7 separate regions of the Homo sapiens genome follow, and regions 1, 2, 3, 4, 5 and 7 are each linked to region 6. The links are contacts of gene promoters, found by promoter capture Hi-C in blood cells and fetal thymus (Javierre and others, 2016). All regions are on one chromosome and are shown on one strand. The core of a region is centred on a gene start or on the middle of the fragment in contact, and the rest is flanking DNA. Distances in the headings are between cores, read along the strand shown. Region 1 has its middle 28 kb from the start of LINC02721. Region 2 has its middle 77 kb from the start of LMO2. Region 3 overlaps CAPRIN1 (cell cycle associated protein 1). Region 4 has its middle 21 kb from the start of CAPRIN1. Region 5 has its middle 64 kb from the start of CAPRIN1. Region 6 holds the start of ABTB2 (ankyrin repeat and BTB domain containing 2). Region 7 has its middle 46 kb from the start of CAPRIN1.

The links. Contacts are between HindIII fragments. The CHiCAGO score rates a contact against its expected background, and 5 or more counts as called.
Region 1: a fragment that was not itself captured here is called in contact with the fragment with the promoter of ABTB2 in region 6 in 13 of 17 cell types (naive CD4 T cells, activated CD4 T cells, naive B cells and 10 more); the score reaches 11.2 in naive CD4 T cells.
Region 2: a contact is called between a fragment that was not itself captured here and the fragment with the promoter of ABTB2 in region 6, in 1 of 17 cell types (neutrophils). The highest score is 5.5, in neutrophils.
Region 3: a contact is called between a fragment that was not itself captured here and the fragment with the promoter of ABTB2 in region 6, in 3 of 17 cell types (megakaryocytes, fetal thymus and M0 macrophages). The highest score is 6.0, in megakaryocytes.
Region 4: a contact is called between a fragment that was not itself captured here and the fragment with the promoter of ABTB2 in region 6, in 4 of 17 cell types (total CD8 T cells, naive CD4 T cells, non-activated CD4 T cells and 1 more). The highest score is 7.0, in total CD8 T cells.
Region 5: a fragment that was not itself captured here is called in contact with the fragment with the promoter of ABTB2 in region 6 in 8 of 17 cell types (non-activated CD4 T cells, naive CD4 T cells, activated CD4 T cells and 5 more); the score reaches 7.8 in non-activated CD4 T cells.
Region 7: a fragment that was not itself captured here is called in contact with the fragment with the promoter of ABTB2 in region 6 in 17 of 17 cell types (naive B cells, naive CD4 T cells, M0 macrophages and 14 more); the score reaches 10.4 in naive B cells.

What each region holds. Positions count from the first base shown.
Region 1 is chr11:33,848,611-33,852,109 of GRCh38, forward strand. No RefSeq gene overlaps it. Among named protein-coding and RNA genes, the nearest start is that of LINC02721, 28 kb to the left of the region's middle. The HindIII fragment of the contact is 390 bases long and covers 1,671-2,060 here.
Region 2 is chr11:33,967,443-33,971,094 of GRCh38, forward strand. No RefSeq gene overlaps it. Among named protein-coding and RNA genes, the nearest start is that of LMO2, 77 kb to the left of the region's middle. RefSeq lists silencers at 2,180-2,474, 3,620-3,652. The HindIII fragment of the contact is 1,939 bases long and covers 451-2,389 here.
Region 3 is chr11:34,068,257-34,071,876 of GRCh38, forward strand. CAPRIN1 (cell cycle associated protein 1) reads left to right here. Exons shown (of 19, transcript NM_005898.5): 3 at 3,470-3,532. Among named protein-coding and RNA genes, the nearest start is that of CAPRIN1, 18 kb to the left of the region's middle. The HindIII fragment of the contact is 2,206 bases long and covers 1,268-3,473 here.
Region 4 is chr11:34,028,490-34,032,000 of GRCh38, forward strand. No RefSeq gene overlaps it. Among named protein-coding and RNA genes, the nearest start is that of CAPRIN1, 21 kb to the right of the region's middle. The HindIII fragment of the contact is 909 bases long and covers 938-1,846 here.
Region 5 is chr11:33,986,336-33,989,521 of GRCh38, forward strand. No RefSeq gene overlaps it. Among named protein-coding and RNA genes, the nearest start is that of CAPRIN1, 64 kb to the right of the region's middle. The HindIII fragment of the contact is 712 bases long and covers 970-1,681 here.
Region 6 is chr11:34,355,790-34,359,420 of GRCh38, forward strand. It overlaps ABTB2 (ankyrin repeat and BTB domain containing 2), which reads right to left and starts at 2,221. Exons shown (of 17, transcript NM_145804.3): 1 at 912-2,221. The coding sequence starts at 1,794. RefSeq lists an enhancer at 1,147-1,256 and a silencer at 2,207-2,406. The HindIII fragment of the contact is 9,392 bases long and covers 1-3,631 here.
Region 7 is chr11:34,004,261-34,007,664 of GRCh38, forward strand. No RefSeq gene overlaps it. Among named protein-coding and RNA genes, the nearest start is that of CAPRIN1, 46 kb to the right of the region's middle. The HindIII fragment of the contact is 783 bases long and covers 1,658-2,440 here.

The sequences.
Region 1 (3,499 bases), core at 616-3,115, 510 kb before region 6:
TAGGGTCCTCCATGCACACACAGAGTGATCTTTCAACACACTAATCAGAGTATGTATGTCACTCTCCTGCTTAAAAGATTCCAAAGTCTTGCCACTGCAGTTAGAATAAAATCTGAGCTCATCTTCAGCCTTGTAAGATCCTACATGATTTGGTCTCATGTATCACCTTTCCTCCAGCTACTTTGGACTTCTTGATGTTCTTTAAGCTCGACAAGTGGGTTCTTGACTTAAGACTTTCACTTGCCTGTTTCTTCTGTTTCTGAATGTATGACTGAATCTTTCCTGACATTCGGTCCTAGCTCAAAGCCACTGCCTCACAAAGGCTTTCCCTGACCACGCCCTCCCTCCTCTAAAACGACATCTCTCTGCATCTCTTGACATTCTATCGCATTGCTCTATTTTATCCTAATTCATTGATCACTTTCTGAAATAAATTTGTTCATTTACTTGTGTATTTATTTATTTTGTTTCCTCCCACTAGAATGTAAGTGCTGTGGTAACAGGGACCTTGCTATCTTGCTCACCACTGTATTTCCATTGCCAAGAACAGTGCCTGGCCTTTTGGAAACGCTCAATACATATTTATTGAATGCATGCATGCATGAATGCCAGCAACTGTTCTCATTGCTTCATGTAGACTACCCATAACTTTTACAATGATATGCTAATGTAAGTATATTATCTTCATTTACAAATGAGAAGACTAACTAGAACCACATCCATTTGTCTCCAAAGATGACTCTTATACATTTACACTCCCTCCCATTTTGTTAGGTAACATTAAATGCAATGAAAACATTTATTGTTGGCAAATGCTTTTAACACTTGGTTTACATTGGCTATATTAATATTTTTGTTTTACACAGGGTCTTACTATGTCATCCAGGCTGTAATGTAGTGACACAATCTTGGCTCACTGCAGCCTTGACCTCTCAGGCTTAAGCTATCTTCCCACCTCAGCCTCCCCTCCCCCCAGTCCCTCAAGTAGCTGGGACCACAGGTGTGTGCCACCAGGCCCGGCTAATTATTTTATTTTATTTTTTGTTTATTTATTTTTTTTTTTTTTTGAGACGGAGTCTTTCTCTGTTGCCCAGGCTGGAGTTCAGTGGCACAATCTCAGCTCACTGCAACCTCTGCTGCCGGAGTTCAAGCGAATCTCCTGCCTCAGCCTCCTGAGTAACTGGGATTACAGGCATGTGCCACTATGCCTGGCTAATTTTTGTATTTTTAGTAGAGACAGGGTTTCAGCATCCTGGCCAGGCTGGTCTTGGACTCTTGACCTCGTGATCCACCCCTCTCGGCCACCCAAAGCGCTGGGATTATAGGCATGAGCCACCGCACCCAGCCCTTGTTTTATTTTTTATAGAGACAGGGTTCTTGCTATGTTTCCCAGGCTCATCTTGAACTCTTGGGCTCAAGCAATCCCTCCACCTCAGCCTCCCAAAGTGCTGGAATTACAGGCATGAGCCAGCGCACCTGGCCTAGGATTTGAATTCTGTCTCTTTTTCCTTAAAATAAGTGAGAAAGTAATTTCCAGCAGTCTGAAAATATATATATGTTATTTGGTTCTATAAAATTAAGTTTTGGGAGATAAACAAATTAATGAAGCTAGAGGCAATATAGTCTAGAATGAGATGACCTCGATGAATTAAAGTCTTGACTTTATCCCAAGCTTCAGTTTCCTCTTCTGTAAAATTAAGATAGAAATATTTGCTGTGTAGAGTTGGTGTAAAGACCATAAAATACTTAGGATAGTGCATCTACCTGGCAAATGCTCAATAAAAGTCATGTTTAATAACATTAATGGTGATAATGCTGCCAAGAATTAGAATTTTATTGCTAGAAAACTGTAAGAGACAAGTTATTCACTCAGTGAGAGGATGGGCTGGATAATTTCAAAAACTTTTTCAGCCTTCATCTAAGATTGTATTATTCTGATCAGCGCTTTTCGAACTCTGGAGTTTTTAACTTTCAATCTACCATGGATTGACACTTTTGTACAATATAATAAAAAGTGGATGACTGGGAAAATAAGAATTTAAAAATGCATACAAAATAAAAGCTTATTGTATAACAAATTGCCCCAAAACTCAGTGGCTTAAAACAACAATTATTTATCTTGTATCACTTCTGTAGGGCAGAAATTGAAGAACAGCTTGGTTGACTGATTCCAGCTTGGGGGTTTCTCACGAGGTTATATTCAAGATATAAGCTGGGACTGCAGTTGTCTGAGGCTTTGACTGGGCCAGAGGCTCTGCTTTCAAGGTGGCTCATTTATAAGATGGGCAGATGAGTGCTGGCTGGTGGCAGGAGGCCTCAGTTCCTCTTCACCACATGGAGCTCCATGTAGAGCTGTCTGAACAGCTTCAAGGCATGACAGCTGTTTTTTTGTTTTTGTTTTTGTTTTTGTTTTTTTTTCTCCAGAACAAGTGATCCAAGAGACAGCAAGGTGGAAGCAACAGTCTGGATCTAGCCTCAGAAGTCACATTCCATCATTTCAATATCCTATTGGTTAGACAAGTTAGCCCTATTCCATGTGAATGGAGACAACACAGGAGGTGAAGCCAGGAAACAAGAATCACTAGGGTCACCTTGGGGAGTGGCTACCACAAATGCTTCCTCCCAAATTCCATACTTACCTGTCTGTAAACCAAAGTCTGACTACCAAATTCCTAGAGATCATCTACTGTAAGCTCCTCAGTTTGCAAATGAGGAAACTGAGACCTACCTAAAGACACTCCACTAATTAGTGGCAAAATCAGGTTTCCTGATTTCAGTGTTCTTTCAATCACATCACATAGGCTATTTTACCTACTATATATCTATTTTGCCTGGGATGTAGTTACGGGGGGCATTTGCCTTGAGCTGCTCATTAAGTGATTTGAATGAATGGGGTGGGGTGGGGAGGCTGACACAGAGATACGGCTGTGGGTTTGCTGAGGCTCACAACAAAGCCATCTTTAAAGTGGTCATCAAATAGGATAATTCAGTGAGCCCAGTTCAAAAGCATCACAATGTGACAATGGAAATTGACTTGATTTAGCTTCAAAGATTCTATTAACTCGGAGAAATGATTTTCCGGGAGAATTAATACATGGCCACTGGTAGAGAATGGATGTGACTTCTTCATTGCTTTGAAACATCTTTTAACTCAATTCTTAGATGTACATACAAAACATTATAGCTTAGATTCCTACCCCTATAATATACACATTTCAGGGCCAGATGATTACATCTTGATCCTAATTACAAAGGAAATGCAGAATTTCTGGTAATCTCATTTTATAAGGTTGAGAAATAACCTGCTTCAGAAATAAGCACTAAGTGAACCCTTCTAAACACATTCTTCCCATTATGGGGAGTGGGTGTGGAGAGGGGAATTACTTGCTTGAGGTACATTTGTAAGGTCAAAAGTACATTAAAGTTGTGACAAATGAACAGTAGTACATTACTGAATTCTACACTATATTTTTTCCTCTCTTTATCTGCCTTGTTCTTC
Region 2 (3,652 bases), core at 170-2,669, 390 kb before region 6:
CATTCACATGTAACATTTTTGTCCCTTTGGTTTTGGCCTAGTATCTTGCACATACTGTCGTTAAGAGCCAGAGAACTCCCAAAATATTATCCTCAGCTTCCAGCCAATAGCCAGAGGTTGTTAATTCTTCCCAAATGTGTTTACAACTCTCTCCATTCACGATGCTGTGGCTTTCTTATTTCAGTGTCCCCTCATCTCTTGCAGGAGGTATTGCAACACCCTCCTAACTCTTCTCCCTGCATCCAGCCCTACCTACCACACCATCCCTTCCCCAGCACATTTGCGGTGGAGTGTGCACACACGCGCATGCACACGCACCCACACACACATACACACACCCATCCTTCTTGATCCCTTCTCCAGATGGGGTGCTCTTTCTAAAATGCAAACCTGTTCCATTCACCACCTTCCTTAAAACCCTTCAGAGATACCTACTGTGGCTCAGGATCAAGCTTAAAGTCCTTAACACAACCTCCACGGCCACTCACGAGCTTGAGCCTGCACACCTCTCCAGCATTTTCTTCATTCTCCCTCTCCATGCACACACCCTATGCCCTATGTGCCAGCCACACTAAACTACTTCCATTCCCCTGAATGTGCCATGCTCCACCGACCTCAGGTCTTTGCACATGCTGTTCCATTCCTGCCAACTGCTTGCATAGCTAACTCCTACATATCCTTTAGTCTTCCCTGACCCTCCAATTCAGGACCAGGTACCCTTCCCTGACCCTCCAATTCAGGACCAGGTACCAACCTCAGGGCACTCTGTACAGCCCCCATGAGCAGAGAGGGGTTAAGGGGTGACCAGCTGATCAACCACCTGGGGCAGAAATCTACAAGGGGGAATAAAAATCACAGGAGATGTAATAAGATTAGAAAAATTTTATCTCCTAGAATCCTGTCAGGATAGTACACTATGTGGTTAGAAATAATATGCTGATAAGTCCCTCAGGGTTGGGGGTAATGTGCCCCAAGGGGCATGCCTTCCAAGGGTGTCACCTCTGTTTTACTGTGGAGTGGTTGTTTGGTCCAGTGGGGAATGCGAATTTGGGGCCAGAGTGGAATTGCTCAGAACTTTGGGTGTCAGGCCTCCTTTCTTCGCCCTTCCCTCCTGACAGGGTCCCAACATATAATATATATGTCTAGTGTATATGCTAGAAAGCTCTAGAGGAAGGGAAAGTACCACCAAAAAACTCTGGTGGGTGAGCAGCAGTCCTGCCTCCGCAAGTGCTCAGCCTCTTCCGTTTTAAAAACTGAATAAATGGCCAAGTGTGGTGGCTCATGCCTGTAATCTCAACACTTTGGAAGGCCAAGGTGGAAGGACTGCTTGAGCCCAGGAGTTCAAGATCAGCCTGGGCAACATAGCGAGACCCCATCTCTACAAAAATTGTAAAAACTAGCCAGGTGTGGTGGCGCATGCCTGTGGTCCCAGTTACTTGGGAGGCTGAAGTGGGAGGATCGCTTGAGTCTAGGAGGTTGAGTCTGCCGTAAGCCATGATGGCACCACTGCACTCCAGCCTAGATGACAGAGCGAGACTCTGTTACAAAAAAACCCAAAACTGAATAAAGATTTACAGCACATTGATTCGATAAAATTTCTATTTATTAACCTGTCCAGGTGCTCACATATTTCAGTCTGGATGCACCCATCAAAGCATCCATCACATAATAGTAACTTACCTGTGGCCCTGCTGGAAAGTCTGTACCATGATAATCATTAACATTTGAGTGGTTAATGCCAAGTGTTAATTCACTTAGTTATCAAAATAATTCCTTCGGGTGAATGCTATTTTCACTCCCGTTTTATAGTTGAGGAAACTGAGGCATAACAAAGTAAAGTAATTGGCAGGGCTGGATTTCAAACCCAGACAGTCTAGCTCTACCTGGTGCTCCAACCAGAATGATACACTCCCCCTTAGGATGGGACTGAGTCCTTTTACCTGAAACAGCCTCTGCAGCCAAGCACAGACCTAACACACAGAAAAATTTAATAAATGTTAGTTGAATGAATCTTCAATTAGTAGAAGACTGTTTATTCATTTCTTCAGTAAATATTTATCAAGTGCCTTCTATGTGGCCAGCACTATTCTGGGCACTGGCACAAAGTGGTGACAAGACCGCTGCAAGCCTGAGTGGCCTCTTGTTCAGCCTGACACACGATGCAGAAACTCCTTCTCCCACATTCCCACCTGATGGCCATCCCACCTCTGGTTCAGGAGATGGAAAGGCGATTGCTGTTAGATTCTTGTTTGTTTAAGAGACTGGCCTTCCTTGGCCTTCCACTTGAAGAAGCACAAACTTGCACTACAACCTCATGCCTATAACAGCCTTTTACATCTTGCAAGATAGTTCTAGCTCCTTCAGGTCTTCTTTATTCTAGGCTAGACTAAGCTTCCTCAGTTCCTTCATCAGTTCATGCTCTGATTACATTTCTGCAGGAGACAGCTTTCATTTACTTACTCATCCATTCATTTAAACTTTGCTTGCTGGGTGTGGTGGCTCAGTCTGTAGTCCCAGCACTTTGGGAGGCCAAGGCAGGCAGATCGCTTGAGCTCAGCAGTTTGAGACCAACCTGGGCGACATGGCAAAACCCTGTCTCTACTAAAAATAAAAAAATTAGCCAGGTGTGGTGGTGTGTGCCTGTAGTACCAGCTACTCAGGAGGCTGAGGCAGGAGGATCTCTTAAGCCTGGCAGACAGAGGTTGCAGTGAGCCAAGATCGTGCCACTGCACTCCAGCCTGGACCACAGAGCCAGACCCTATCTCAAAAAAAGCTTTACTAATGACTTACTATTAATATGTACCAGGTACTTTGCTAGGCCCTATGAATACAGAAATGAAGGGCATGGTTTCTTCCCTCAAGAAACGCATGGTCCACTGGGAGAATGAGGCATTTAGGGAAATAATTTCAACATTTCCTAGGTGACAAGTATAATAGAGATACAGTTATACTGAGTAGAACCACTCAGTGCTACAACTAGACTTTAAGCCGGCCACTCTGGGATCATTCAGTGTGGCCATGTTTATCTTGCATAGTGACCACGAGAATGAAAAGAAGAGCTAGGAAATAAATATCTCCACTGTCCTGATCTGAGTGTTGTCATTTAAAGGATGCAGTCCAGAACTGTAACTGATTTATTTAGCAGGTGGCTAACTTAAAAAAAAAAACCCTAGTATTAATTTCATGAAATGTTATCAGGCCCATCCTACACTAATGAAATGAGAGATAGATGAGAGATAGGCAGATAGATAGATAGATAGATAGATAGATAGATAGATAGAGAGATAGATAGATAGATGGATAAACATTTTGCATGTTTCATCCCTGGTAAATATCCTCTTATTTCAGTCTAGCAAAGCTCTCATATACAATACCAGGCCTTAGGAATCAAGGTCCAATTTCCAGCTCCATTATTTCAACCTCCAAGACCTACCTCATAGGTCTGTTGAGGGCATTAAAAGAAACAATGAATGAAATGATCTGGCACGTTGTAAGCCCCATAGTTGGTGCTCAATAAATGCTAGTAATATTTACTTGTGGCTTACTGGTTCCTCAAGATTCCTTAAAATCTGAATCTGGACACCCAATGTATGAGGCTGCGCTTCAGCTTCATGTCAGCTGCAAACCTGACAGGGTGTCTTCTAATTTTCAA
Region 3 (3,620 bases), core at 1,121-3,620, 290 kb before region 6:
AGGTGTTTGGATCACCAGCAAACAAGGCAGAGATAGATTGCTTTTATGACTCAGCCTTGGAAATCATACAGCATCACTTATACAGTACTCTTGGTTGAAGCTCACTCAAGTACAATGGCAGGGGAAGTAGACTAGTTGTTAATGGAGTAGTGCCAAGGTCACATTTTAGAACAGTATGTGAGACTGCATGCAGATTTTGTAGCTATCTTTGGAAAATGTAATCTGCGATAGCTCTCGGTTTGGATGAATTCTAAATTTGTTATTGTGTAGAAAATTGGAGGTTTTCTACTCTAGGATAGCTTGTCCTACTATAGGATAGTATAGGTTCATAATTAAGGATTGTTATTGGTGAGAGTCCTAACAATGTACTGAAGTCTGTCAATTTTAGTATCTTTTCTGTTGCGTGGAATTCTTATTGTTTTCATTAAACAAACTATATGTTCATTGCACAGTAGTTAAGTGTATAAAACAAAGCAAAAGGAACACAGCTCTGGCTATAATTTTACCACTCAGGTACCATTCTTACCTTTTTCATTGTTTATCTTTTTATATTTATTTTCATCGCTACACAAACATTTTTTAGGAGTTTGATTCTACCTCCATTTTGGTTAGATATACAAACTCTACCCCATGAGGGATGTATGGTGTATTTCTAGATTTAGCAACAATTTTCTTGAAAAATGTACAATACTATAGAAAAATGAAGATAGTAAATACCAGGTATAAGTTAATAACAGTGTTTCTTTTGTTCAGTAATAATGAACTGTGTACTAGCACTGAACTTTAGGCCCTCCTATTTGCGTATTTTCTGTTTGTATATTTTTAAATAGAGGAATTGTGATTATAATATTATTATTTTGGAATATCCTAAATCATAAATTCAAAACTTATTTAGTTTTTTTTTTTTTTTTTTAAGATGGAGTCTCGCTTTGTCCCAGGCTGGAGTGCAGTGGCATGATCTCAGCTCTCTGCAACCTCTGCCTCCCGGGTTCAAGCGATTCTCCTGCCTCAGCCTTCTGAGTAGCTGGGATTACAAGTGCGCGCCACCATGCCTGGCTAATTTTTGTATTTTTGGTAGAGACGGGGTTTCACAGTGTTGGCCAGGCTGGTCTTGAACTCATGACCTTGTTATCTGCCGACGTTGGCCTCCCAAAATGCTGGGATTACAGGTGTGAGCCACCGGGCCTGGTCTAGTTTTTTATTTCTTAAAAATAGCCTACCCTTTAAGCAAATAGAATTTTTTATTTTAAAAATTTTTAGCTTCCCAAGCTTATGAGTCTTCCCTTTTCTTCCCTTTTAAAAAAGAGAATGAACTATCTGTTGATCCTCAGAGTATTTTGTGAGGTAATTGGACACATCTTCTGCACCTGGGGTCAGGTCTGTCATATCAGTGTAAAAAAAAATTTTTTTCCCTCAAATCAGTAGACTGAAATTTTATACCTGTTTATTTGGAGGCTTATAGATGGTGTGAAATAGTTCATCTAATAATAAAATTGGGTACTATTAAAAGCCTTTAATGTCTTAGTGATTATCTTGGTTTTATTTACCTCCAGTGTTAGGAAGGAATTGTGGTAGGGTTTTCAATTTGGGGTAGAATGGCTAGGCAAGTTGACATTTGTTTATGGTACAAAGAAAATAGATCATTTGACCTAAAAAAAAAAAAAAAAAAGAAAAAACAAAACTTATTACCATTGCTTTTAAACTGGCTTCTGTGGTTTCTGAATGCCCTTTATTAGAATTTAACTTTGTACTTTGTTTCACAATTTTATTATTGGTAAGGGGGTAAGGAACTATGTATGTTCATAATTTATTGGGATTAAGTGTTGTCCTGTTAATTTAGATTTATCCTCATTCACTGTCCTCTTGACCTTTACAATAATAATAGTTTGTGACTCTGTTGCATTACCTGAATATCTGTGGGGTCTTACTTAATAGTAGCCTGGGAAACCTGCAAAGTTTTAATCTTAGCAAGAAAATGGGATCTTAAACCAGATGTTAGTTTTCTGTCCTCACCCTTGAACTAACAAAGCAAAGCTGTTGACTTGTGTATTAGTGAGGTGGTAGCTATCTTGTTCAAGATAAATGGATGAAGTACATTAAAGACAATATGCCCATGAGTTTATTCAGAAAAAAAATACTTTTTTTCCCCTTGGGGTGGGGAGCAGCATCTCACGCTGTCGCCTAGGCTGGAGTTTTGGCATTATTTCAGCTAACTGCAGCCTTCACCTCCAGGGTTCAAGTGATTCTCCCACCTCAACCTCCCAAGTACCTGGGACTACAGTCTCGTACCACCATACCCAGCTAATTTTTGTGTTTTTTGGTAGAGATGGGGTTTCATCATGTTGGCCAGGCTGGTCTTAATCTCCTGACCTCAAATGATCCACCCACCTTGGCCTTCCAGAATGCTGGGATTACAGGCAGGAGCCACCGTGCCTGGCCCGAAAAAATACTCTTTTTTTTTTGGATGCAAAATTTCACTCTTGTTGCCCAGGCTGGAGTGCAATGGTGCGATCTCGGCTCACCGCAGCCTCTGCCTCTTGGGTTCAAGTGATTCTCCCGCCTCAGCCTCCTGAGTAGCTGGGATTACAGGCATGCACCACCATGCCCAGCTGATTTTGTATTTTTAGTAGAGACGAGGTTTCTCCATGTTGGTCAGGCTGGTCTCGAGCTCCTGACCTCAGGTGATCCGCCCACCTTGGCCTCCCAAAGTGCTGGGATTACAGGTGTGAGCCACCGTGTTCAGCCTAAAAATACTCTTATATCACCTAGTCACATGAATTCTTTGGGGAGAGGGAGAGGCAAAAATTTAACTTGATAAATGTCTGATATGCTCACTTGGGTATAAGCAGGATCCTAACCAAATTGTGGCCCTTACCCATGTGGGTAGGAGCCATATGCCTAGTCCATCTAATACTCTTTCTTGATTAAGCTAAAGAATGAATAATGTTGTGCCATTGGTTTACAGTACAGCCTTTGATATCATTCAGCAATGGTTGGAGTATATCTAAAAAGTTTTATGTACTTAGGCTGGGCGCGGTGGCTCATGCCTGTAATCCTAACACTTGGGGAGGCCGAGGCAGGTGGATCACCTGAGGTCAGGAGTTTGAGATCAGCCTGGCCACATGGTGAAACCCTGTCTCTACAAAAAATACAAAAAAATTAGCTGGGCGTGGTGGTGAGTGCCTGTAATCCCAGCTACTTTAGGGGCTGATGCAGTAGAATAGCTTGAACGTGGGAGGCAGAGGTTGCATTGAGACAAGATCGTGCCATTGCACGCTAGCCTGGGTGACGAGCGAAACTCTGTCTCAAAAAAAAAAAATTTATGTACTTAAACTGGAATATATCTTAAAAGTTTATTTAAGTCAAAATTTGAGACAAACTTAGAGGATTGTGAGGGTTTTGTCAAGCATGCTTAAGCTGGTATATACCTTCAAAACGGAATGTAATTCTTTTTTTTCTTTTAACATAGGGTAAGCTTGATGATTACCAGGAACGAATGAACAAAGGGGAAAGGCTTAATCAAGATCAGCTGGTAAAGATGTTATATTTTTTATTTTAGACCTAATGCTCACTATTTTAAAGACAAAAATTAATTCTGTGGTTTTTTGTCTTTCCAGTAA
Region 4 (3,511 bases), core at 142-2,641, 330 kb before region 6:
TGGGTCGTGCCTCAATGCCCTTGAAGGGAGGCTTCAAGAGTTGACACTGAGGAGCTATGCAGAGGGAATGCAGGGTGATCTTGGCTTAGAGCACCTTGAGGAAATGACCAACAGCCCTAGTCCAGGCTGTAGCCTGCCAGAGTTTCAGCAGGCATAGAGGCCGAGTGCCAGGGTGACATTGTTGAGCAGAAACTTCTCTTTACAGAACTCAGATTTCAACTGAGTGAGCTGGCAGCATCCAAGAGCAGATGTAGCAAACTCCAGGCTCAGGCACTTCAGTCTGGCTTCCAGCTCCAAAGCTTTGAAAGCCAAGCTGTGTTAAGGCCCCAAGTTCTAGAAGGCTTTTGGCTCTAAGTGAAGTTTCTATGTTAGATGAGATTTGTTTTCTATAAGTAGCAGAAGTTTAATTTTTAAAAAGGAGGGGGAAGAGGAAGAAAAGGAACAGGAGGAAAAGATAGTTTCCTTGGTCTTTAAAGACCAACATTCAGGGCCGGGGGCGGTGGCTCACACTTGTAATCCCAGCACTTTGGGAGGCCGAGGCGGGCAGATCATGAGGTCAGGAGTTCGAGACCAGCCTGGCCAACACAGTGAAACCCCATCTCTACTAAAAGTACAAAAATTAGCTGGGCGTGGTGGTGGGCACCTGTAATCCCAGCTACTTGGGAGGCTGAGACAGGAGAATCACTTGAACCCGGGAGGTGGAGGTTGCAGTGAACTGAGATCATGCCACTGCACTACAGCCTGGGTGACAGAGCTAGACTCCGTCTCAAAAAAGAAAAAAAAAACAAAAAACAAAAAACATTCAGCTGGGCTCAAATCCAGCACCATGACAAAGAGCATAACATTTATCTTAAAGCAGAAATGGAAAGGCAGTGAGGGTTCTCACATAGTCAGATCTCGGTAGGTTGCCAAAGGGCGGTGTCCCAGTATACAGGAAAGCTTGCCACCAAAGCCAGAGGTAGGGATATAAAGGTGGAAACTCTTTCCTAAAGGAAGAAGCCACTTTAAAATGTAGCATTTTAAAATAATTGTTTTCTTGTCCCTCTAAATTTTAGGCCCAACATCAGACAAAGCCTCAGTTTACTCTGATCTAAACTGTAGCTCTAGATCATGTAAACTAAGCTGAACATGTAAACTCTCCAAGTCTCCATGTTCTCTTTTTGGTAAAATGGAGAGAGTAACCCGCCTCACTGGGTCATTGTAGAGATTAAATAAAAACATATAAGCCAGGCATGGTGGCTCACACCTGTAATCCCAGCACTTTGGGAGACCAGGGCAGGTGAATCACTTGAGTTCAGAAGTTCAAGCTCAGCCTAGGCAACATGGCAAGACCCCGTCTCTACAAAAAACACAAAAAATTAGCCGGGCATGGTGGCACGCCTGTGGTCCCAGCTACTTAGGTGGCTGAGGTGGGAGGACTGCTTGGGCCCAGGAGGTAGAGGCTGCAGTGAGCCAAGATCGCGTCACTGTACTCCAACCTGGGTGACAGAGTGAGACTCTGTCAAAAAAAAAAAAAGAATAGAATAGAAAAGAAAACATACAAGATGTGTTCTTGGCACAGAGTAGGTGGTCAGTAAATGGTGGCCATAATTATTATAAGAAAGTACTTGACCTTATTGGGTTTATTTCTTTTTTTCTCTACAATTAGCAATTGCTTTATTAATGATTTCTGCAGAGAATCTATTGAGGACGTTTTATCAGAGTAGTTACCTAAGACTTAAGAATAACAATCCATTTTGACATGTAATCCTACATGGGTACCATCATTCATCTTTTTTATATTACTTAAATTTCAGGCATAGTGTGTGGGAAGAAATAAATAGCCTCTGAAGGACTGTGCAAAGCAAGCTTATAAAGACATGTGTATTTTAGGGGAAAAAAACTGCTCCTGGTGATTCTGATTGTGCCCATAAATATTTATTTAAATGAATGGATGCCTAATTCCCTAAACTCCACAATGGAGAACCTCTGGGAGTATATTCAAATTCTGTTGCCAAGCTCTGCTTACTTGCCCTAATTTCCAGTTAACTTGAGCATGCATGCCCAGAGGGCACATAGTACTATACTTTTAGACCTTCTAAGACTCATGAGGCAGATATTTTATGTCCTGGTAAGTCCCTGGCTCTGTAAGGACTTGCCCTGCACTAGCCCCGAGCAAGGTTACACACAGGTATTTCTGAGTGGCCCCACTGTTTTTCCATAGCCAATTAAAGGGGGGGGGGCAATAAAAATCTAGTCTTATCTTGAGAAGTAACAGAAGTGAAGTTGGTTAAGTTGGTTTTGTTCTTTTCCCTTTTTTTTTTTCTTTTTTTGACAGAGTCTTGCTCTGTCACCCAGGCTGAAGTGCAATGGCACCATCTTGGCTCACTGCAACCTCCACCCCCTGGGTTCAAGCAATTCTCCTGCCTCAGCCTCCCGCCCAGCTGAGGTTACAGGCGCCTGCCACCACGCCAGGCTAATTTTTTGTATTTTTAGTAGAGATGGGGTTTCACCATGTTGGCCAGGCTGGTCTCGAACTCCTGACCTGAGGTGATCCACCCAACTCGGCCTCCCAAAGTACTGGGATTACAGGCATGAGCTACTGCATCCAGCCTGTTCTTTTCTTTTTAAAAAAAATTTAACATGCAGGGCTGGGTACAGTGACTCATGCCTGTAATCCCAGTACTTTGGGAAGCCAAGGCAGGAGGACTGCCTGAGCCCAGGAATTCAAGACCAGCCTGGGCAACATGGCAAGACCATGTATCTATTTTTTTTTAATTAATGTGCGCACAAAATGAGTGCAGGGAGAATTATCCCAAGTTGTACTCTCTTCATGAGGACTAACAGGTTAAGTTAGTATCAACTTTGGCTCATTAGCCTCCTCAGAAGACCTTGTAGAGTTCTTTGTACCCCTCTAGGACATTGGTGCCAGAGGAAGATTCCACCTGCAGTCCTCAGAGAGTTGGCTGCTCTCTGACTCCAAATGCCACCCCTTTCCCTACTGCAGTTCTAACATTCTGTTAGGATTGAACCTCCAGCATGATCGTGACTCCCATTTGTGTTTGTTCCTGAAAGGGCACACATGACTTGTCCCTCTACTAGCAGGCTAGCAGCAAACAATGGCCACGAGTGATTTATGGGCACGTATAATTTTCCCTGGGAATTTCACAAATGTTAGGAAAGAGAGAAACCTGAGTGATAACATACCACCTTCAAATCAAGTAAGTCAGGGTTTGGAGCTTTCCCAGAATTCAAGCCAAGTATCAATGAGATTATTCTTGTAAGAGCATCCCAATTTTCAGTTCTACAACCCCTTTCCAAATACTTTCAGAGAAAACACTGGAAATGATTGGAATCCCTGCTAGTCAATCCAGTAAGGCCTTTGAGCATCAAGATGAGGTGTACTGGCATAGTTGTGACTTCATTTTTATGAGCCAGCATGTGAAGTCCAAGACCTAAGAGTTATTGGCAGCTCTGGGTTCTGATCAAGTTGTCTATTACCTGGCAGCCCTTGACTGCTTCAAGCACCACT
Region 5 (3,186 bases), core at 76-2,575, 370 kb before region 6:
GCCCCCGCCAGGCCAGCCACCCCGTCCGGGAGGGAGGTGGGGGGGGTCAGCCCCCCGGCCCGGGCCAGCCGCCCCGTCCGGGAGGTGAGGGGTGCCTCTGCCCGGCCGCCCCTACTGGGAAGTGAGGAGCCCCTCTGCCTGGCCACCACCCCGTCTGGGAGGTGTACCCAACAGCTCATTGCGAACGGGCCATGATGACAATGGCGGTTTTGTGGAGTGGAAAGGGGGGAAAGGTGGGGAAAAGATTGAGAAATCGGATGGTTGCCGTGTCTGTGTAGAAAGAAGTAGACATGGGAGACTTTTCATTTTGTTCTGTACTAAGAAAAATTATTCTGCCTTGGGATCCTGTTGATCTGTGACCTTACCCCCAACCCTGTGCGCTCTGAAACATGTGCTGTGTCCACTCAGGGTTAAATGGATTAAGGGTGGTGCAAGATGTGCTTTGTTAAACAGATGCTTGAAGGCAGCATGCTCGTTAAGAGTCATCACTACTCCCTAATCTCAAGTACCCAGGGACACAAACACTGCGGAGGGCCCCAGGGTCCTCTGCCTAGGAAAACCAGAGACCTTTGTTCACTTGTTTATCTGCTGACCTTCCCTCCACTATTGTCCTAGGACCCTGCCAAATCCCCCTCTGCGAGAAACACCCAAGAATGATCAATAAAAAAATAAACTAAAAAAAAAATAATTTAAAAGGCAACAACATAACCTAGCTATAATTTCTGCTTTAAGGAAACCTAAAAATGACAAACAGAAAGTCAGCATTTTTCAAAATATGTGCTGTGAGATACTAGTTCCCGGATGTGCTGGAGGGGGAGTAAGAGAAGGGTACCCTCTTAGTTGAGAGAAATTTCAGAAGATTAATTTCCTCCCTTTGTTTTGTTTCCACACTCAGATCGTAAGTTTCTGATAATTTGCTTTTTGTGCTACTTGCTCATGGGAAGAGCATGTCCTGGGCCACACGACACAAGCTTTCCAGGCTTTTGCTTCACAGCTCAAGTTAGCCTTGTGAAGCTAAATGTCAGCATTCATGGCTAGGCATGGTGGCTCATACCTGTAATCCCAGCACTTTGGGAGACCGAGGCAGGCGGACCACTTGAGGTCAGGAGTTCGAGACCAGACTGGCCAACATGGCGAAACCCTGTCTCTACCAAAAATTTAAAAATTAGCCAGGCATGGTGGCACATGCCTGTAGTCCCAGCTACTCGGGAGGCTGAGGCACAAGAATCACTTGAACACAGTAGGCAGAGGTTACAGTGAGCCAAGATGGCACCACTGCACTTCAGCCTGGGTGACAAAGCAAGACCATGTCTCAAAAAATAAATAAATAAAAAATAAATGTCAGCACTTATACTTATATAAAAACATATGCGTATGTTCTTGTATACATATAGTGATTTAGCTGAGTAGTTAATTTAGTCATAGCAAATACGCTTAACACTTTACATAGCAAATATGCATAACAAATACGCTTAACACTTTTTCTTCTTTAAGTGGAAGGGCCATAGTGGGGGGACTTTCACCTTCAAAGCTACACTTTCTCTAATATTTGAAATTTTTACAATAGCATGTTTAATGTATATAACCTAAATATATACATATATTTAAGTTACCATATTCAATTGTAGAATTTGAGAGGTAAAAAATATTTTCCCAAAAATGTTCCCAAATGCATCTCTCAAGCTTCCACATGCCCAGACTGGCAGAAAATCCAATTTTCCTAAGCACAGCCCACCTACCTCCTTCTCTGCAAAACTCCCCTGCCTCTGCTTGTATTCAAAGCACAAGCCCTGGCTGAATGTGCTTGCCAAGTCCCTAGAATTGAAGCTTAGAGCGCCCCCTTGAGCCTTGAGGGGCATCCACAGTGCTGCCCAGCTCTTATTCTTTAATATGCAACCGACGAACGTTGACTTGGTGTAAGAGACCCTCTTGTCAATGCTGCTGCTGTTGCTCCTCCCAGTGACCTTAGAGTTCTTTTTAGAAATAGTTTCTCTCACTGAAAAATATAAAAGTCATCTTCACCAGACTCTAAGCTTTTCTTTTTTTTTTTTTCGAGACAAGTTCTCTCTCCGTCACCCAGGCTGGAGTGCCATGGCACAATCTCAGCTCACTGTAACCTCCGCCTCCCGGGCTCAAGCGATCCTCTCACTTCAGCCTCCCCACCCACCCCCCACCCCCCGGGTAGCTGGCACTAGAGGCATGCGCCACCATGCCCGGCTAGTTTTTTGTGTGTTTTTGTTTTTATTTTTTGAGACAAGGTTTTACCATGTCACCCAGGCTGGTCTTGAACTTTTAGACTCAAGCGATCCACCCCCCTCAGCCTCCCAAAGTGCTGGGATTACAGGAATGAGCCACCATGCCCGGCCTTATGTATTATTTGTTTAAACTTCACAACATACCTCGATGATAGGTGCTATTCTTCCCATTTTATAGATGAGAAGACTGAGATTTGGAGAGCTTAAATAAGGGGTTTAAGGAGACATTGCATGAATGCTCAACTTCTTGGACAAATAGGACATGAAACTCATATGGAGGTGATTCTGTCAAAAGCATCTACGCAAGGGCTCTGCAGTCTACACCTAGGATGGGCTAAGCCCAGGTTTTCCACACTAGGATGTGTGGACTTTCTGGAATAAGCAGAATCCTGTAGGTACTGATACGGTAAGTAAACACAGTGTATCATCTAAGAGTATGTATTAGTCCATTTTCGCCCTGCTATAAAGACATATCCAAAAGTGGATACTTTATAAAGAAAGGAGGTTTAATTGACACACAGTTCTGCATGGATGGAGAGGCCTTAGGAAACCTACAATCATGGCAGAAAGCCAAGGGGAAGCAAGGCATGTCTTACATGGCAGCAGGTGAGAAAGAGAAGACAGGGGAAACTGCCAAACACTTTCAAAGCTTCAGATCTCATGAAAACTTACACACACCGTCACAAGAACATCACAGGAGAAACCACTCCCATGATCCAATCACCTCCCACCAGATCCCTGCCTTGACATATGGGAATTACAGTTTGAGATGAGATTTGGGTGGGGACACAGAGCCAAACCATATCAGAGTATCAGTTTTCCTTCAAGGTTTTTTGGGGTAAATGTTATTTTATAGTAAGACCAATGGATATATTAAGGAGCATAAATGAAACATTTTAAAATACTTTGAGATAAAAAGGCAAAAAGATAA
Region 6 (3,631 bases), core at 971-3,470:
ACACCCCCTAACATTGTCAGGGAAAAGGTCATGTGCTTTGTTTCCATCCTTTGCACCAAATCCATGCTATCTTCAGGGAAGTGCAACCACCCAATGGTTCCTTTCCCAGACTTGACCCCATGCGGTTACCTATCTCTTCCCCTTGATGGGCCACCACTCTTTTCAGGAAAGAACATTTAATACAATGCAAGGTTTTAACCAATGGCTCACTTGGTTGGTGACAGCTTGGAAAAATCAGGTCTCAGGAGACAATCTGTGGTTACTTTTCTGGGAAGGGGAGTCGGGGTCCCCAGGTTTCATCATTCCTGGGCACATATAGGTAAGAGCGAACCACTACCCCTCCATCCCCCAAGAGAGCGCCTGACAGCATCCTTCAGCCCAGCAAAGCACAAGGCGCAGCACCAGATCTTGGGCTTCCCACTTCCCTCCGCCCATCTTACTTATCCAAGGTTCAGGTCTTTAAGTTGGGACCCTTTGGTTGCTGCTATTGAGCTGGGGAAAACTAGGGGGCAGAATCAGTCAATCTAACCAGCTGTTGGGGAAAGACAGCAGCTAGAGACCTAGTCAATCACGGTAAAGAGCCACGGGGCAGTAAGTTTCATTTCAAGAGAGGTTCAGGAATGGCTTGGTCAAGAGATTCAATCTCACCCAATCAATGAACAGCCCGCAGATAGTAACAATGCCACGCAGAACAGGATGGAGATCATTCACAAGTTTACCCTCCAAAAGTCAGACACCCTTAGAACAATCTCTGGCAAGTGCCATGTAATGAACCCTATCCTCAGACCAAACGTTTTCTCCCAAAGAACTGGCACAGCCACCAGCTTTGTCTCAGGAAATTCACTCCCCCAGTAGCCCAGGGCGGGATTTCTTGCCTACCCAGTCTGCCAGTCCGAGGCCCGCGCGCTTACCATTGGCGTTCTTGCCGCAGATGAGATGCTCATAGGGCTGCAAGACGCCCCAGAGCTCGGCGTCGTTGTTGATGACCATCTCCAGGGCCTCAGCAGACACCTCCCCGCCTCCGGCCCCTCCGCCATCAGGGCTGTGGCTGGCCATCACCCTGGCCCGGATCTCCTCCACCAGGTTCTCCATGCAGGCGGTGAGGGAGATGGCTGCGTACTCGTGGATGCGCACGGAGATTCGGGTGTCCACCATCCAGCGGAAAAAGCGACCCACTGAGAAGGTGAGGCCGCAGCGCGCGGACTTGCCCCGGCGCAGCCCGTCGCCGGCGCTCATGCTGTACAGGGACAGCGCCTTGACGGCTGCCAGCGCGCAGCTCTCGGCCAGCGCCCAGCTGTGCACCAGGCGCACGGCGCTCTGCACCTCAAAGCGGGTGCACTTGGCGTGCAGCACGCTCAGGCGCTGCGCCTCGCGGGCCACGCGGATCAGTGCCCTGCGGAGCAGCCCGGCCAGGCGCCTCACCGCCTCGGCGGAGAACTGGGGCAGCCGCCGGCCGCCAGCGCCTTTGCGGAGCACCCGGGCCACGTCTCCTTCGGTCCAGGGGAACTCCTCCAGCTCGGGGAGCCGCGGACAGCGCGAGAAGAGGTCGGCCACTTCGGGGTCCTCGGGCAGCACCGTGTTCACCGTGTCCCAGCTGTTGTGGCGGCTGTTCATGGAGCCGGAGTAGCACCACCAGGCCGCCCCGCGGTGCTGCTGCGCCGAAGAGTTGAGCGCCTGCGAGTTGGACTTGGAGGACGAGAGGCTGAGCGAGCGGCACGAGTCCCCGGCCCCATACCCGGAGTCCAAGGTCAAGTCCTCCAGCGTCTTCAGAGTCGAGCTGTACGTCCCGGCCATGGGGAGCCTGCCGAGGGCGGCGTCGCCGAGCGAGGGGCACTCACAACTCCATGCCCTCTTTCCCAAGTGGGCAGAAACAAGCTCTAGGCCCTCCGGGCCACCCTCCTTCCTCTCTGCGTCGCGGGGCTCGGCGGCCGCATTGCCTGCCCGGAGGCCGCGGGAAGGTGGCCGAGATCCGTGGCCAGCAGGAGCCCCACGCTCCCGGCGTCCCGACTCGCAGCTGCCACTGGAAAGAACCCCGTCGCTACCCCCCGGCACTCCCCCTTGTCCACCTCTAATTCCCACAAGCAGAGAGTCAGTCCTCCACAGAGAAGGAATCCCGGGAGAACAGGGCGGCGGCGGCAGAAGGAGGAGGCGGCGGCGCAGGGCGCAGGGCGCAGCGCGAGTCCGGGACCAGCCGGCGAGAAAGCGCTCTGCAAACTTCTGCGCTGCGCCGGCCGGCAGCACAGCTGGGTACCCGGCTGCGTCCGACATGCAAATAACCCCGGGCGGCTTACCAATCACCGGCCGCGATGGGCGGGGCTGCACCAATGATCTCCGAGGGGGCGGTCACTATGCAGATTTCACTCTGCCTCGGGTTAAACCCCGCGGCGAAGGAGGCGGGGCTGGAGGCCGAGGGTCGGGCACGCGGCTGGGATGGGGGTGGGGATGGGGGGGGATGGGGGGGATGGGGGGGTGGGGGAAGGGCGAGCCAGCCAACTGGGAGGTGGAGGTGGAGACCGGAAAGCAGCGGTCGAAACGATAGCTCCGGAGCTCACGATTTAAAGAAAAATGCAAAGGAAAAGCTACAGGGCGCTGCCACCTTCCCGCCACCCAGGCTTTGGGCGTTCGCTGCTCGCTTTCGAGCCCTCCGCAGCCAGGCGTCCTGGGGTTGGGGCCAGGAGAATGGGGAGGGCCCCATCCAGGCGCTCCACCTCTCCTCCACCTTCCGCCAGGCCCCTCCCGCAATCCGAGATGAAACGCTGGCTGTGTTTGGAGGGAGGAGGGAGTCCCTGCCTCTCTTTCCAAGTCCGTCTGGTTCCTTTGCGCTGCCGTCTAGGCTCCAATAAGGACAGAATTTCTTAACCTGGTATCTGATCAATGGACGGGCCCCAGGAAGCCTGTGAGTGCCTCCGCCCATTTGTGGTTTCACCTGCAGTTTTCTGAGTGCCACTATGGGGAAGGGGCACCAACTTTTGTCAGATTCTCAAGAGGATCCGTGACTTCCCTGTTACCTCTGTGTGACGATACCACTTGCTGTCAGGTGGGTCCTTTTTGTCCGAGATAGACAGTGTTCTTACAGGAAGAATGAGAAGAAGGTGGCAGAGCAGTCCCTCGCCCTGGGCTGAGCTCGGAACACCTAGCTGGATGCAGGTGTTCGCCTCCTAACGCGTGCCGGTGGGCGAGCCGTATGCCCCCGCGGGACCCAGTTCCTCCGGGGTACAATGAGTGGCTGACCTCCAGGCAGCGCCAGTGCCAACCTGCCTCCGGGCGGGTGTCCCAAACGGTCCGCCAGAGCGCTGTTGGTTCAGCAGTCCCATGCCCGGTGCAGGCATGTCCCGCCGCTGCCCTGTGGCTACTCACACGCACGTGCGCAAACGGACCTGTGCCCCCTCCAGTGGAACCGCAGGCTCAAGGCGGGGATTGTGCATTCGCTCTCCCCAAGTCAGCCTCCCCCACTCCTGAATGGCTCCTTTGTGTTGCATTTTACACAGTTCTGACCTTGGGCCGTGAGTTGGATATGAACTAGAAATGTCTGGTTTGTCTCTTTCCTTCTTAAATTAATGGCCTTTACCCCCGGTGAAACTGCTTTTTATTTGGCAGTTTCGCTTAATTTTGCCTTTCCGCGGGTCTTTAT
Region 7 (3,404 bases), core at 799-3,298, 350 kb before region 6:
GAAAGAGGTTCTAAATTTATCTCAGTATATGCAACAATCATTTACTGGAGCTTAGACTATGCCCAGCACTTTGCTAAGCTCATTACAAAAGTTATCACACTTAATCCTCACAACAATCCTATGGAGGCAGGTACTATTTTCATCCACAGTGTACAGATGATAGGTCTGAGGCTTGGAGATATTATATAACTTTCCCAAAGTCACATGGCTAATAATTAGCCAGGATGGGAGCTAAGGGCCATATCACTCCAAATCTTATACTCTTAATCACTAGCTCTGCCGCCTCTGTGTTCCACCTGAGTGGAAAACTGAGTTTCACCATTTTTTCTCCACCTCTTGGCTCTGCTTTCCTCTGGAATGGCTTCGTCCTCAAGCAGGCTTTGTCCCCGGGCTGCAAAGATGGCCCTAGCAGCTCTGGGTGTGTGTGATTCTTAGCCTCTGTGATTCCCAGGAAAATGGGTGTTATAATTGTCATGGAGAGGGCTCCGGGGTAGATTCCCATGAACAGTTCTTCGCTTTGTTGTGTGAGCATGCCACTTCTCCCGTCAAGAGGTGGAGTTTATTTCCTTTCCTCCTGAACCTGAGATGGTTTCTTTGACCAACACGCATTCTGGAACTTCTGAACCCAGGCCTTTGAAAGACAAACAGCCTTTGCTTTGCTGTCTAGGAACCCAACTGCCATGCTGTAAAGAAGTCCAGGCTATGTCACTGGATGGAGGCCCCACAGAGAGGCCCTGAAGGATGAGATGCCACATGGAAGGAGGCCCATGAAGGAAAATCGAGGCACCTCAGCAGACAGTCATTACTAGGGTCCTGGACCTTTCAGCTCAGCCCAGCTGACAGCAGAATGCAGCTGTGAGTAAATCCAGCCAACGCCACACAGGGTAGAAGAACACCCTGTCAACCCACAGAATCACAAGAAATAATGCATCCTTGTTTAAAGATGCCAAGTTTGGGGGAAGACAGTTATTGCTATTGGCTTGGCATGAGTAATGTGCACATTTCTGGATATTTCATGCCCAGGAGCATGCAGGCCTCTGATTGGGAAGGTGTGCTTCACCTGCATCCTCCCTCGGCACCTTGGTGGGTACCCACAGAAATGCTAGACAGATGGAAAAAACCTGTGTCCACCTGCCTTGTGTGGTTTTTGTTAATGTGGTAGAAAGAGCAAGGACTTTGGGGTCCAAATACCTGGATTCGAATATCTGGCCATCTCTCTTTCCAATATGCCACCACGAACAGGACATATGGTTTCTCTACATCTTTCTTAAAACTAGAAATGATTTTTCACACAAGGTTCTTTTGTGGAGATGAAGAGAGATTTATTTCGTGAATATTCACCGAGTTCTTCCAATAGACCTGGCACTATCCGGTGCATTATAAGCGCTTTGAAGACAAGCTCTTTGTACTATCATTTTTTCTGAAGTTCCAAACATATTTATTGAATGAATGAATTGTGTCAGATCCTGGTGACACAAAGATAAGTGCAGAATTGGTCTCTGAAAAGTTCACAGTTAATGGTAAAGAATGTGTACAAGACTACAAAGTGGCATACAAAATTTAGTTGTTATTATTTAACCTTTTCAATGCAGTGATTCATGCACTCATTCATTCATTTACTAACTCTTCCTACTTCATTCCCAACAGTATTTGCAGAAGCTTTAAAAAATCATTCCATATAAAAGGATAAAGTACAGATGAAGAATTAGGGCAAAGGGAAAATAAAGGTTAGAACAATGATTTATTAATCTATAACTTAATTGCAACATGCTTTGGCTTTAAAGCCAAGGTACATTGCATTGTTCTTATTGAAGCATTGCCTGTTGTTTTTGTTTTTTGTTTTTTGCTTTTGAGATGGAGTCTTGCTCTGTCACCCATGCTGGAGTGCAATGGCGTGATCTTGGCTCACTGCAACCTCTGCCTCCCAGGTTTAAGCTATTCTCCTGCCTCAGCCTCCCAAGTAGTTGGGATTACAGGTGCCCACCACCACACCCAGATGATTTTTGTATTTTTGGTAGAGATGGGGTTTTGCCATGTTGGTCAGGCTGCTCTCAAACTCCTGACCTCAGGTGATCCACCTGCCTCAACCTCCCAAAGTGCTGGGATTACAGGCGTGAGCCACCACACCTGTCCTGTTTTTAAGCTAGTATCTTCACTTAAGGTAATTAAACTATCACTACTGCCAAGATTTCTAGAAGCAATAACTTCTAAGTTAGCCAACTGTAGTTTTGACATAAACACATCCTCTCAGATTTTATTGTACATTTCAATTAACTTCAGTTGGTAGGAAAGATCTTGGAAAAACTGCTTCTACTCCAGTTGGGTTAAATTGGTTGGTTCAGTCTAAAGACCTAACCATTGTGTATATGGTGATCAAATGGGAAGCAGTGGAGACTAGTAGGTAAAAACTAGGAAGGAAGCAGCTAGAAGCTGAAAACCAAGCTTCAGATTCCTCCTCTATCACTTACTACGTATGTAACCTTGAGCAGGTCACCTCACTAAGGCTGTTTCCTCATCAGTAAAATGGGTGTAACAGTAGTATTTACAACATAGGGTTGTTATGAGAATTAAACGAAATAAACTGCATAGTACATAGTAAATGTTCATAAATGTTAGCTATTACCACCATTGTAGTGGAAAGAGGATCAATTATGGAGGTGCCTGGCTTTGGGGCAGCTGTAGTTTTATTGCAAGTCTGAGTAGGTGGGTATTAATTAGGACATTCTGATGACAAGTGAAATGGAGGTAATACTGGTCATTTGAAAATTACTCATGTGCTTTTATATTTAGCTTGTCAGAACACATGACTTCCACCCTTGTCTTCCTGAGGCATCCTTTTGCCTGGGGAGATTAAAAGTGTTACAGAGGAATGCAAAGAGGAAATCCAGCTTCTGACACTCAAAAATAGGATTTTCATGCACTACTCTAGCAAGAGAGGACTGTGGATCTTCCTTTACGTCTATCTTTATTTATCAAGGTCCAGGCTAGTGAACTGTAGCGTTCCATACAGGAAGAAGAAGGAGGACAATGCTGCCCCTTCTTGGCCTCAGAGGTATTGTGGGAGGAAGAATAAAGAGAGGGGGATAAACCAAGTGTTTAAATATGGATCCCAGTCTTTCCTCTCTAGGCTTCGGCAAGAATCTTTTGCTCTGTTGTCCATTTGGGTTTCTGTTTAGGAAAGAGACACCTTGAAGGCTGTTCTAAGGTAACTAGGAGAGCAGGCACACCCGTTAAATTTGGTAGCTCAGCTGGGCTGGGCAAAGGCATTCTTTTTTTTTTTTTTCTTTTTTTTGAGATGGAGTCTCGCTCTGTCGCCCAGGCTGGAGTGCAGTGGCACGATATTGGCTCACTGCAACCTCCGCCTCCCGGGTTCAAGCGATTCTCCTGCCTTGGCTTCCTGAGTA